Regions from separate parts of the Homo sapiens genome. Here regions 1, 2, 4 and 5 are each linked to region 3. The links are contacts of gene promoters, found by promoter capture Hi-C in blood cells and fetal thymus (Javierre and others, 2016). All regions are on one chromosome and are shown on one strand. Each heading gives the region's core, a stretch centred on a gene start or on the middle of the fragment in contact. The rest is flanking DNA. Distances are from core to core; before and after follow the strand shown.

What was found. Contacts are between HindIII fragments. The CHiCAGO score rates a contact against its expected background, and 5 or more counts as called.
Region 1: a contact is called between the fragment with the promoter of DLG2 here and the fragment with the promoter of CCDC90B in region 3, in 4 of 17 cell types (fetal thymus, naive CD8 T cells, non-activated CD4 T cells and 1 more). The highest score is 9.9, in fetal thymus.
Region 2: a contact is called between a fragment that was not itself captured here and the fragment with the promoter of CCDC90B in region 3, in 1 of 17 cell types (naive CD4 T cells). The highest score is 5.4, in naive CD4 T cells.
Region 4: a contact is called between a fragment that was not itself captured here and the fragment with the promoter of CCDC90B in region 3, in 1 of 17 cell types (non-activated CD4 T cells). The highest score is 6.6, in non-activated CD4 T cells.
Region 5: a fragment that was not itself captured here is called in contact with the fragment with the promoter of CCDC90B in region 3 in 3 of 17 cell types (non-activated CD4 T cells, naive CD8 T cells and naive CD4 T cells); the score reaches 8.2 in non-activated CD4 T cells.

Annotation. Positions count from the first base shown.
Region 1 is chr11:85,625,894-85,628,593 of GRCh38, reverse strand. DLG2 (discs large MAGUK scaffold protein 2) reads left to right here and starts at 1,250. Exons shown (of 28, transcript NM_001142699.3): 1 at 1,250-1,376; 2 at 1,841-2,007. It overlaps TMEM126B (transmembrane protein 126B), which reads right to left and starts at 1. Exons shown (of 5, transcript NM_018480.7): 1 at 1. RefSeq lists enhancers at 204-393, 534-583, 664-823, 696-1,204. The HindIII fragment of the contact is 9,013 bases long and covers 1-2,700 here.
Region 2 is chr11:85,821,366-85,824,065 of GRCh38, reverse strand. It overlaps a transcript of SYTL2 not described here. Among named protein-coding and RNA genes, the nearest start is that of SYTL2, 12 kb to the right of the region's middle. The HindIII fragment of the contact is 2,133 bases long and covers 294-2,426 here.
Region 3 is chr11:83,285,091-83,287,790 of GRCh38, reverse strand. It overlaps CCDC90B (coiled-coil domain containing 90B), which reads left to right and starts at 1,424. Exons shown (of 9, transcript NM_021825.5): 1 at 1,424-1,918. The coding sequence starts at 1,819. CCDC90B-AS1 (CCDC90B antisense RNA 1) reads right to left here and starts at 1,671. Exons shown (of 3, transcript NR_186344.1): 1 at 1,244-1,671. RefSeq lists enhancers at 1,387-2,036, 1,459-2,054, 2,087-2,166, 2,055-2,651. The HindIII fragment of the contact is 4,800 bases long and covers 970-2,700 here.
Region 4 is chr11:86,245,557-86,248,256 of GRCh38, reverse strand. All of the region lies in intron 1 of EED (embryonic ectoderm development), which reads right to left. Among named protein-coding and RNA genes, the nearest start is that of EED, 2.2 kb to the right of the region's middle. RefSeq lists a silencer at 316-610. The HindIII fragment of the contact is 524 bases long and covers 1,137-1,660 here.
Region 5 is chr11:86,065,538-86,068,237 of GRCh38, reverse strand. The region is part of intron 1 of PICALM (phosphatidylinositol binding clathrin assembly protein); the gene reads left to right. Among named protein-coding and RNA genes, the nearest start is that of PICALM, 2.2 kb to the left of the region's middle. RefSeq lists an enhancer at 1-508. The HindIII fragment of the contact is 1,685 bases long and covers 506-2,190 here.

The DNA.
Region 1 (2,700 bases), core at 1-2,500, 2.3 Mb before region 3:
TGACTTGCCGGTGGGCGGGGACCCAGAACGCCCTGGGCGGGAAGTGGTGCTGATTTACGGCTCAACGCCTCTCGATTGCAGCCCGGGCCCGCCCCCACTCAGTCAAAAGCCGCGCCCTCCATCCTGACTGTGATTGGGCGCGGCGTCTAGAAATTACGGCCACTTATTCGCTTAGAGGAGGTCCAGGCGCCTGTGGGCCTGCCCCCCTCGCCAGCCGAGTATTTCCTTCCCTGACTATTTATCAGCTTAGCTCCCTGATCTCTTCGCGTCCTGCGGGAAAGATGGGGCGGCCCGAATGTTGTAATGTTACTGCGCTCCTGCCTCTCCTCAGGGCAGCTGGGAACTAGCTGCCTGCCCCTTTCAGTCCTTGAGGGAACTCGCCCCTTTGCCCTGGCCTGTGTGGTGTTAAAGCTCTGTTTCTCGGGCACCTCCTCCTCCAAACCCCGGACCAGCCGCCCAGCGCCGTCAGAGCAGCCCCGACTAGCCTCCTCTCCTCTCAGCCGTCTGACTCCTCTCCCCAGTCTGTAGTCCCCTCAATTTGCATCCTTTAGCCCCGCTTGGAAAGAGACCGGAGAGAAATTTGCCCACTACCCCCGCGAGAAGACCCACTTGTCAGCCGTGTCTCGGGGTGGGGGGCACTGCAAGGCCTGGCGCTGTTTTGTGCACGTTAAATGCCCAGCAGTATCTCCCAGACCGGCAACCCCCGACCCTCCAGTCTCCATGTCTTACAGAAGCCAAATTCGAGAGTTATATAATTTCTAGTGCTGCTGTTGCTCCTGCCTGAGGAAACACTTCATCGCGTGGAGGGTGCAGGACATTTCAGTGCTCTTCCCTAAAAGAACGGGGCTTGGGCAGGGGTGGCCAGCGGTGGCAAAGAAATGTCTTGTCTTTTCTGCAAAAGGAAGGTGGGTAGTTTGAAGAGAGATTGAGAGAAAAGGTGGATGTGAAAGCCAAGCAGCTGCACTTTCTCATTTAGGAAATCGCGGACCGTTTACATAGCTTATGCTTACATGTCTAATACTACTACGGCGTCTCTGAAAACACCTTTGGGGGAAGGTTTGGCTTCTCTCGAAGTCTCAGTGTTTTTCCTCGCCGGATAGGGAGCTGCTTGAATGCGAAGAGATGGCATGATGTGAATGACTCCAGTGTGAAGAAATCTGCTTCGCCAACTCATCCTGCATCAAGTGCCCATTGAGTAGCACTGTCACTTTAATGTCTCCATGCCAAGGGATTGCTTTCCTTTTTTTTCAATCCTCTCGGTTAATACATGGGAGGATCAGAATCAGAGGGGCATTAAGGATCAAGCCTGGGGGCTTGGAGAGCACAGAAGAAAAAAATGAAAGGGACAGCAAGCTGGATTCTGAGTTACTGAGGGGGTGAGATCCGGAACTTCTGATCAGTAAATATAAGGGGGCCTTTCAATGTGTGTTCTGCCACAGAAAACTGTTCAAACTCACCTATCTTTTTAGAGACTGGAGTCAAAGAGATTTTTAAAAGTATTTTTGGGGAGGTGGGGTTACATTTTTCTCTACAGATTTGAGTATCTTTATCATCATCTTTGAATTTGACCATGTATAAAGTAATGAGACCTGTCTAAATTTGGTTTGTGCCTTAATTGAGTTAGTCATTGAACTTCCAAAAATGTTGCTGCCTGAAGAGGAATTTCAGTAACGTTCTTCATGTTTACAATAATTTTCCCAGTTTGTAAAAACAGTCTAAATATTTTCTGAAAATTGAAAAACTTGAAAAACTAAAAAATTACGTTGCTGTAAACTCTGTGGGCGGTGTAAAAAGTTTAGTTGTGGAAAAAATACATCATTATTTTCTTTGTCTGACATAGAAGACTCAGCCTGGATTTCAAAACTGAACACTGAAGTGGTTTGCAACAGTTACCTGGCTCTTGGCCTCAATCCAGCTGGATCAAACTGAGACCTGAAAAGAGATATTGACTCCTGTGGCAGTGGAAAGACCCAAGAATGCCAGTCAAGAAGACAGGTGGGCCATAAGGTTGCTATATAATATTTCTCCCTTTTGTTGGTTCTGGTACTTGTAATTTAAATTATATTCCATTTGAGAGTAAAGTTTTGCTTCAGTTTGGGGGAAATATTTATTGTAATATAGTTTCAGTGGTACATAATTCAGTAATATTATTTTACTAAAGTAAAAGGAAGCAAGACTATAGTATTTATTGATAGATATTTATGATTTCATAAATCAGGTTGTTTATATCACCGTTGGTAATAAGAATAGATTCAGTACCGCAGATTTGGAGTCTCCTTTAGCTTGTTTTCTTAGCTTGTTGAAGGTTACTTTTAAGCAGTCTTTAAAAAAGAAACTTGTGCAGTGGAGCTCTTCCTCATGGGTTTAATATTTATCAAACTAATTACAGAATTGTGAAAGGTAGCAAAGTAATTTCATTTGCACTGAACAAAATTACAGCTTTATAATTTATCTTTTGGTTAAAAAATAGACTTATTATTTGGATTTATTCTAGTGTAAATCTTCACTTTTGTGATAAAGCACAACTTTCGTGACTATTGTGCTTTTCCAGATATATGCATTATCCAATAACATGATTGTCAAGTTCCCCAAATGGGGCAAACACCTGTTTTTTTCCTCCCTCCTCAACAACTTTTATTATTGGAATTGATCAAGATCTAGTGAATTCCTGAAGCATAGTTGATTATATTCTGAACTTGG
Region 2 (2,700 bases), core at 111-2,610, 2.5 Mb before region 3:
ACAAAATGTAAACATGTTCATGGGTGGCAGTGTGGTGGCCTGTGGTTTCCTTTAATTCAAAGTTAAAGTCCCATTCAGGGTTTCCCATGGTTTCTTTGCAAGTCCCAGAATTGTTACTTGTTTACTCTGAACATGAAGGTGGCTGATGGAAGTTCAACCTGACTAACCACAGCATCCTGTAGTCAGCACATAGATGACTGGAGCTTACGTAGAGTTTACATGCATCTTGAAAACTTTTGAGTGTTATTTGAGCTAGTGCCTTAAGAAGTAACCCGGAGTAAAATCTTAAAGCTTTGCATCAATATTTTCTTTTTGGTATTCCACTCAAGTATAAAAGGTCTTGTGGTCCAACTCTATAATTTTTGACTGTATAATTTTGGCAATTTCCAGGCATTTTTCTATGGAAAATTCCTTTCAACCCAGTAACGGATACTTAGTAGTATTGATAGAATTGACCACAAGTGTTTTAAAAATAGGAAACTTAAAGAAACAAAAAGGGAAATAAATTAGTACATTTTAGATGTTTTAAAAGTGGATTAAAGTACTAATATAAAGCATAATGGGTAAACTATATCTTTACCTTCTTTCAAGTCCACATGCTATTTCTTGCCTTAGAAATTTGTAAATGATCTTAATGTAGAAAGTATCTGACTGAAGACTGTGCAAGCTGGCAGCTGCTAGACTACTAAAATCTTGAATTTTACTGTTGGTGAATGTCAGCCGGCAACATGTACTTGATATTCTATTTAAGGCTATTGGCACACTAGAAGATAATCTAGGACTCAGCACATTTCCCAAACACTCATCAATTATTTATTCATTCTACAAATATATCCAGTGCCTACTATGTGTCAGAAACTGCTTTGGATTTTAAGCCTTAAAATGATGAAAAAGACAATGTTTCTGCCTGCATGGAACTTATATTCTAGTGGAGGCTCAAATGTTTGTTAGTTGAGTAAGTGAATAAATGAAGGAGGGTGGCAAGAGGGAGGAGGCTGGGACTAGGCTGGATTGTGGTGAAAGCAACCAATGTTCCATGATAATGCCTGAGGGCTTAGTCACAGCCACAAGGTTAGGTCCAAGTGTTTAAGCCAGCATGGCGACCTTACCATTCTCTTCACACTCAGAGGCCTACAAGGAGGCCCTGTCTCCATATTCAAGTGCTTGCTTGGGAAGTCATTGCTTTTTGCACCTCCATCCTCCCTTTTGCATGCACTTGTTCCTTAATGTTGGCGTTAGTTACGGTCCTACTCCCTGTCAGCTTGTCCGTCCTCTCTGCCAGGCTCTTTGGATTGATACTTCTTTGGCCTGACTGTGGATTCCTCTTCTTGCCTTTGTCCCTAAATACTTTCCTTGGGATTCCTTCTTGTCTTTATCTACTACTTCCCCTAGCTAATGGCCAGATCTATCCCAATCTGAGCACAGCTATAGTTTCTGATTTGAAGCCTTAGATACTCCCTGACCTAATGGGAAATGAGATGTCAGGGAGTGGAACTTAGCAGCAGCAGTTTCCAGACAGTGATGGCTCTCAGATCCAGGCAGGCAGCAAGGCTGAGTTTGCAGGGGTTCATCTAATTTGGAATAGGACCACAACTAGGAGGAGGAGTTTGACAGGAGAAGGTCAATGGCTCAGGGATTCAAGACAGGTTCTCTGCCCTGGCAGAATAAGTAAAGTGTAGAGCAAATAGTAAGATCCAGTCTTATAGATGCTTGAGCATGGCCAAGGTTGGGGCAAGGCTGTACCTTGCTGCAAGGGGTGGGCTCCAAGCTCATTTTTTGTTAGCAGTAGCCATTCCAGACCCCATGACTAGGAGTCCGAGATCATTGATCTGGTAGTCTGCTTACACCTGAGACTCACAGAGAAAACTGGCTGCAAGAACAGACTTTGAGAGGAGACAGACTAGGGTGCGAATCCCTTCACCTCTCTGATCCTTAGTATCCTCACTTGTAAAATGGGAGTGGTAACACCTGCCTTACAGGGATGTGGTAAGGATTCAATGAATTTGGTATAACTATTAGATCTCTTTGAAATGGAAAGCAGATAAATGAGTCTTTGAGCACCTAGGGCTCTCTATGAGGCCCAACTAAGGGTGGAAATGGCCAGGGCCCCAGTGCTGGTGTGGCTGGCTCTGCTGCCACTGGCAGGGTCTAGCACAGTCATTCAGGTAGAGCTATTCAAGAGCAACAACACCCAGTGGTTGTGCTCTCCCACTGGATTCTGGGGAGTGGTTGGATGTTGGCTCATTCATCTCTGCCACATGCTCATGTGTATATAGTCATCTTATGTTTGTCTTGGCTCTGCTGTGAGCACATTACCTCTCTGGGTACTGAATCTACTTCCTTTAATCTCAAAAAACATTGACCAAAAACTGAAAATGGACATATATATAGCTCCTGTCCCTGAGTCCGTTCCACATACTTAAGCTTCTTTCATTCTTCTGCTCAGAAATCTTCAGTTGCTTGTTATATTTAACTGTACCATTGCTGGACTTTCCAGGCCTTTTATAATCTGATTTTAACATGTCTGGCCATTCTGCTCCCTTTGCTTCCTAACACTCGCCTTCTTTGTCCCACTGGAACCTGTGTCTCTCAATCACGGCTTGCTTCTCCCAGCTCTGGTGCCTTCACCTCCAGTTGTCCCTGTTATTCCTCTTTTAAAAATCCTACTCTTTCTTTAACGTGGCTCAAGTCTCACCTTTC
Region 3 (2,700 bases), core at 175-2,674:
CCTGAGTGACGCAGCAAAACCCTGCCTCAAGCCAAAAAAAAAAAAAAAAAAAAAAAGACACATGCAACCGTATGTTCATTGTAGTGCCATTCACGATAGCAAGGACATGAAATCAACCTAAGTGCCCATCAACAGTGGACTGGATAAAGAAAATGTGGTACATATACACCATGGAATATAATGCAGCCATAAAAATAAGGAAATTATACTCTTTGTAGCAACATGGATGGAACTGGAGCCATTATCCTATGCAACCTAATGCCAAGAACAGAAAACCAAATACACATGTTCTCACTTATAAGTAGGAGCTAAACATTGAATATATGATGGTAAACGTGGAAACAACAGGCATTGAGGATCATTAGATGAGGAAAGGGGGAGACGGACAGAGGGGCATGGGTTGAAAAAGCACCTGTTGAGTACTATGCTTACATCCTGTTGGGATCATTGGGACCCCTAACCTCGATATACCCTAAGGTTTTGCGTTTTGTATTTTGAAACTGGTAAGATCAAACTTTTTTCCCAATTTTTTTTTTTTTTTTTTAGATCGAGTCTCACTCTGTCGCCCAGGCTGGAGTGCAATGGTGTGATCTCGACTCACTGCAACCTCCGCCTCCAGGATTCAAGCGATTCTCCTACCTCAGCCTCCTGAGTAGCTGGGATTACAGGCATGTGCCACCACGCCCGGCTAATTTTGTATTTTTAATATAGACAGGGTTTCTCCACGTTGGTCAGGTTGGTCTCGAACTCCCGACCTCAGGTGATCTGCCCGCCTCGGCCTCCCAAAGTGCTGGAATTACAGGCATGAGCCACCACGCCCAGCCATCCCAGTGTTTTAAATAGCAATTTATATTTCCTCTTCATGAATTGTCTGTTAAAGCAGTTGTTGGCGGGAATCAAGTTTTGTTCTTTCAATGTGCTTCGGGCCTTAGAAATGGTGTTTGTTACTTAGTTGACTCTCACAAAGCTTTGAATACATATAGATAGAAACCTAGCCGTAATTGTTTAGAATCTTGAGAGAGTAAGCCACTAACACCGCACAACTGTGTGCCATTTTACAACTTACAGAGAATATTCATGAGTATTAGTGCATTTTAATACAACTACTGTGCATTGTTGCTTTCAGCATTTTACTATGCGGAGCAGTCTTGAGTAACTGAGGTCTGAGAAGGATAAATGGTGAAAATTCAAGGAATTTCTCCTAGAAACGGAGGAATTCGGCTTCCCTAAAGAAAGGACATACCGACTGAAATAGTTGGTCCTCCCGTGCACCAGAGGGTGAAGCAGCAGGATGTGACGCCTCACGAAAAGTGAGCGGCTTGCTGGACTACACTTCCCAGAAGGTTTCGTTGGCCCTCGCACTACGCAATCACCCAGAACGCTCAGCGGCCGAAAACTTCAGGTTCCAGGCTGCTGTGCGGCTAAATGCGACTCCATCTCCCCCGACCCAAGCGCGTAATGGCCGCTGGCTATCTTGGGGGAGCCAGCTGTTGGACTATGCCCCACTGCCAGGAAACAGGCGCCGGAAGGTTCTCTGACAAGATCTCGCTTTCCTAGGGCGGTGAAGGCGTTCAAAGGTCGGGAAGGGGCGCTGGGAGAAGCGGGGCAGCGCTGAGCCATGCTCGCGAACTGTGGGTCTGTCTGTGAAGAGACCCAGTTTCGTGGGACCACGGTGGCGCCTGCGCTGGGAGGTGAGCTTGTGACAGAGCGAAAACTACAATTCCCAGCATTCCTGTGGTGCCAGAACTACCTTGCCCGAAAGCCTGTGCGAGATTTACCCCGTCTTCCGCCTCCCTCCCACCGGAAAACTCTGAGGACATGAATAGTCGCCAGGCTTGGCGGCTCTTTCTCTCCCAAGGCAGAGGAGATCGTTGGGTTTCAAGGCCCCGCGGGCATTTCTCGCCGGCCCTGCGGAGAGGTGAGGCAAGGCGTCGTGTCATAGATGCCTGAGTGCTCTCTAGGGAGACGATGCCCGTGGGGTCGCGCCTGCTCGAGCGAACGGGAAGAGAAGGTGCCACGCCCTCCTCCCGGATTCACGCCTTGTGCTGGGCGACGCCGCTGCCTGCTGCCCCGACTTGCCCAGCTCGCCCCAAGGGGCGAGGACTGAGGAAAGCACTGCCTTTCTGTTCTTAAAGCGAACCTTTGAAGGCCTGGGCTTCGCGCCCGGCTTCTTTCTCAGCCGTTGTTTCCGTTTTTTGGTGACAAGAGGCTAGTAATCTCGTCAGGAGCCAACGTAAGGTAATCTGTGTTTGAGGGTGTCCTGTTTTCTTTTGTGGCCTGATCAAATTTTGATTTTGTTTTTTTAGGTGCTGGCCTCGAGCCCAGGTTTTTGGTAGACAGCATCATAAATTTCAGGCCACGTCTGCCTTATTCTCACTGGAATTCTCAGTACATTTCAGTCACATTGTAGACTTTGGGAAAATAAGTGAATACTGGAACCCACAAGTTTCCAACCTGTTGGCACCCCTGTTAACAGGGTGTCCTGAAGACATCTAACTTTATTCAGAGAAATGTTTCTAGGGCTAGGTTTTTGTTGTCGTCGTTGTTTTTCACCCCCAGTTTTTTAACTTCCCTCCCAGTTTTTAAACCGTTTTAAGGTTGTCCACAAAATAGGCGAATAGGCACCTCTTATCTCTGTTCACCTTCTTGAATCTTCAGTGCCAGGTACGCTGAGCCATTCGGTACCCAAACACTTCTACG
Region 4 (2,700 bases), core at 149-2,648, 3.0 Mb before region 3:
ACCATGCTTCCATTTTATCTTTAAACTAAAATCAAGTCTTTGCTGAGTGTCTAATATATGTACAGGGTGACCTCCATCCTATTCCATTCTCAAAGTAAAGAATGATACTGTGCAACAGACATGGTACTACCATCTTCACTTGCCCAACGAGGAAAGAGACACAGGGCAGTAATTTGCACCTGCATCTTGCCACAGGGATTCCCTGCATCTTTGCTTTTGCTTAAGCAAAAAGACAAGTCTCCAGATTCAGCCCTCTGATCTTACTACCAAGGCATCCATTAGTACTCTCGCAGAAGCCAACTACTCTGCAGTCATATGATCTCAAAAAGTTCAATAAAATGGCAGGTAACACAATAAATGTAAAATATGTGCCTGTAATTCTCTGACTCACATTAACAGTAGTAACTGCTCAGGTTACCTGAACTCTAACACAAAAACATATTCCCCCACACCCCATCTGCTTTGGCCTTTTGCCATTATTTGGCTCCCTCAAGAGTAAAACTATTGCCCTTATCTTTTCTAAACTCATTTTTATACAATGTTCTCTACTCCCTTACCTTACTACTGCCCCTAAGTCAGGGGTACATGGATGAAATTCAGAAGGCTTGTGAACTCAAATGGGGAAAAAAAATTGCATCTTAATTTTTGCCACCTTTAAAATTTAGCACTTCCTTCTATTATTATCTAGGTAACACATGCTTAATGTTACTGAAGTTGTGACTCTGCCACCAATGGAAATCAAGTATTTTTATATTACACTTCGAAAAAGTGTTTATACCCATCACTACTATCAGACCCGCTGCTAGATCTTGTTACTTAATGTGCTAATAAAGTACATATAGTATAGGACTACATCTAAAATTTGTTTTAGAAATATTTTATAACATGGTGTACAATTTTATAATTGAATTTGTTTGTAACCTCATATCCTGTATTTCATACATCTAAAAATGTTATTTTGAGAAGACTCTACAAGATTAAGGCTTCCAAGGCATGCGCACGCACACACACAAAATTAAGGCTATCCAAATGGAGGAACCAAAACAAAACTAATCCAATCATTTGGTCTTGAACAGCTTTAAAATTGCAGCAAAGAATATGTTTTCCTGTAAGGGTCTGCAAGAAGAAAATAAGCTTTATTTTGTCCTTTGCAAGTTTCTTCATTCTAAACAGGTCTGACAGTTTCATTATATTTTGCCTGATTATTAAGTATGTGGAAGAGCCAGAAACATTATTCTATGTAATCATAAAATTAGTAGTAGTAATTATTATAAATAAATAACATGTGTATAGTACTTACTATGGGGCAGACACTCTTCTTAGTACTTTAGCTATATTAACTCATTTAATGCTTACAAATACTCTATGAGGTAAATACCATACACCACCATCCTCATTTTTAAGAAACTAAGACAATTATGTCAGTCTCTTGCTCGAGGTCAAGCTAATAGAACAGAAATTTTAACCTATCACTTGGATCCAGCATCTGTGCTCTTAATACTCTAATCTGCCTAGAGAAATTTAAGAAAACGCAGAAATAAAATGAACGGTCTTCAAATAATAAAAAGAAGAGGGTAAAAAATGTTAGATCCCAATGTACAGTGAGATTGGGGCGCACAATCGGGTGAAAAATACAAAAGTAACACTTAACACCCAAGCTTTTCTGAAATTTGAAGTCTAAGATCCCACAAACTGACAATCCCAAGAATATCTATCTTGTCTCTGCAAAAAGAATCCTTTCCCATCTTTTCCGTGAAAATCTTAGTCATGACATCATTATATGTTTCAGCTAGGAATTATGACAGAATTTAGAAACTGCGTGTAGAAGATGTAACATTTATTCCTAAAACTAGCCAAACTGAGAAAATGAAGAACTTACGCCACTCTTCTGAAACATTTTAAGGATTTTTTAAAAGATATTCACAAGTTGTTATATATCATGAGAAGGAGAATCACATTTTGGAGTAGTATCTTTGAATAAATTGTCAAGATACTTCGTTGACCTTACTGGTTATCAACCTAAAACATGAAACTGAAAACTTATTTATGTCAATTCGGCTCTTACTGGCGAGTCAATTAAAACTCAGTTGGGTTAAATGTTGGTACCGAATGATTACGAATACCCATTTCAGAGCTTAAAAAAATCTGATTGCAAAACATCGCGCACTTGGCGAAGCCAGGAACCCACACTTAAATACATCTGCCTATACCACTGTTGCCCAAAATCTTCCAGGTCGCCACCCCCCTCACCTTTATCTTAAGTAAAAACGTTCAAAGAAGAAATCACCCACTCTTACTTCCTCAAAGGTAGTCACTCCCCACCCCCAAATCAAAAATCGATCCTCTCAATTCGGCTCCTCCTACAGAAAAGGCGACCTTCAGGCGCACCCGGTCTCCGCGGACAGGACGGAGGCGGACACAAAACCCCCTTTAATAAAGTCTCCCAAACTCCGCAAATCGAAGATCACTTTCCATCCTGAAAATTCCACAAGGGTCTTAGAGTGACAACCCTTACGCTCCTTTAACAGGGTCCCTAACTCTGCCCCGTCCTTCCAACTTTCTTAGAAAAGTCTCTAACGTGCCTTTTAAACTACTAGAATCTCAGACCCGCACTCTCCCCTTAAATCCCCCCAAAGGCCAAAACACTCCCCATCACATGCAAACTGATTTCAGGGCAGACTTCTCAGACCCACGCAATCA
Region 5 (2,700 bases), core at 99-2,598, 2.8 Mb before region 3:
ATCAGCCTCCTTCGGGTTTCAGTAAACGCCTGGTTCCTTGCATCCAGATCCTTGTTATCCCTCCGGGCTGCCTCCCTGGAAGGGATCCCCCACTTCCTTTGCTCCACTAGCTGCTTCGCCCATCCCTTCCTGGCTTTCTGTTCCACCTTCCCTCCTGCTTTTGGGTTACCTTTTCATCGCCTCTATAGTAGCTTCAGTGTAGTTTCTTCGACTCATTTTAAATACCATACCCAGTTACCCGACTTTTATTTCAGATTACCTTCTTTGTGGGAGTGAAAGTAAAAGGATTCAATTTGGTGTAGGGAAAGCTTTCTGGAAAGTTGGGATTTTTATTTGCCTCTGGTGGAATTTAATCGTTGTGTTGTCCATACTTTTGACTGGGGTGAGTTTGTGACTGTCAGCTCTGCCCCCCAGCTTTTCACATGGGGATATGGAAAAAGGCATTTTGCTGATACTCTTATCAGTTCCTGGAACTGTTAATTCTGGCGGCTTGAATTCAGAAGCTTGAGTGTTAAGCGTAGACTGTTGGAATTCCAAATGGATTAATAAATTTACTTACAAATAACATACATCCCTTAAAAAAATTGGCAAAATGATGTTTGATGATGCTTGAGTTTGGATGTTTTAATTATGCCAGTTACCTTTTGAGGAACTAGCTTTAGCTTCTCTTACACGACATAGTATTCGTCCATTCGCTAACGTAGATACAATTAGTAGAGCTAACTCCTCGTAACTTTTTTCTAACCTGGAAGTCACCTGTAATACCCTCCTTTTTCTTTGCGCTCTTTTACCCCAGGGTACAAAGCTCATTGGATCACTCAAGCCAATGGAGCTTAGACCTGAAACTTTTCAGGGAAAAATAGGGCAATAGTCACGATAAGTAAGTTCCCTTTTTAAATGACTGGACACATTAGTCTGACTGACTTTCATCATACATGAAAGTTACTTTGTTTTACTGTTTGAAGCAAGAGTGAGCATGCCCTGAAAGATAATTCACTGTCTGGAAGCCTGTTTTGATTTCTCATTTGGACTTTGGCCGTAAAGTTTGCACTTTAAAAAAAATGTACGAAATGTAGATTCTTCCAAGTTACTGTGCTCATGAATGCTGTTAGAACAAGTTTTTGCTACACAGAAGCCTATTATTCTTTGTGATTGTTCCTCCACTGTGGAAAAAAGTTTTAAATAAAAAAGCATTAGTGCTTGATTCTTTCAGATATGCATGCAGGCTGCTTTTAAACTCTCAGTCCTTGCTTGTCTTAGAGAATGGAGAATATGTTTAAATGGTGACACTCTTATGAACAGAAAACTTTTTAAAATGCATCGTAAAGCCATATGTGATTTTTTGATTATCTGATACGTGTAGTAGACGTTTCTGCTATTTACGGCTCTTCAAATACTACTTGGTTTGCCCTACCAAATCTTACAGTTTGTCCTGACACTGTGTTAATTCTTTTGTTAGTTGCTTTTGGTTTTTTTTTGTTTTTTTTTTTTGTATGGGAGTATGAAGAAACTAGTTGTGACTGTGTGAACTATTTTCCTCTTTCCTCATTCAAAATAAGAATCGATAAGGCTTTTAAAAGTTTTTTTTGTAAAGGTTTGTGTCTTATTTCAAATGTAGCAGTGGTTCTTTTAAAGCATTGTCAAAAAGAGGAGAAAATAGGTAGGGTTAGAAGAGTGCTATTTGCATGTTGTTTCATAAATGTTATTAGCTATTTCTCTTGTTATAGCCACTACTGCAGATAGATGGTAACTGGGATTAGGTTTGGAGGATAATCTTGCATTTGTCGTTCTTTTTCTCTACCACTTCTGTGTTTACAAGCTCCCACGTTTTTGGAACTTGAATATACCTGGTAGTATTTGATTTAAAAATATATGTGTCGTTAATGTGCTTCTGTTTCTTTTCAATGAGGTTTTAAAATACAGGGATACTATTTTCCCTACATTGTTGATTAAAATGTCCTGTAATCAGTTCTCACTAATAAAATACCTTTATCTTAGGTAAAGTCTGACCAGTGAGTGGTTTACTAAACAAATACCTTCCTTGCACACACTAACATGCTTTGAGAAAATTAAAAAGTCTTCTACGGACAGTTCATGGTGTTGACATCATGAACTTTAGGCTTTAATACAGAAACCTGTCATTTCAAGTAATTTTTTGTCTTTTAGGAATTTTTCTTTATAGTGAAAGCTTAGTTTATGTGCACCTTTTAATGCCCCTAGCAACTGATGCTTATTTATATGAATCTAATGAAAATGATTTCATTTTAAAATGGCAGCATTTAACAAAAAATATGCTTAGGACTGTTGTTTTTCGTATAAGCCCTTAGAGTGTGGAGGTGGTTTCTGTCAGTTTCTCGCCAAGATCTTTCCACATTAGGAAGTGATTATTAATAATTCATGAATTATGGCTTAATTCATACTACATTATATACTTACTGAAGAAAGATTTTTTTGCTTTGCTTATACTGTAGGTGTTAGTGGATAATAGTGTTGACTAGCATCCCTAGTGTGAAAGAGTTGTCAAACTTGAAATATGTTTGTAAAAATAAACACGATTTCCGTTTAATCTTAGGCCTTTAGTAGCCATAATCAAGGTAGAGGAATAGCAGCCCTTATATTTGAAGAACTTCAGTTTTCCAGGCACTTTCTCATCATCTCATTTAATCCTGTCTCACAGCTGGAGGTGGGGGCAATTCATAT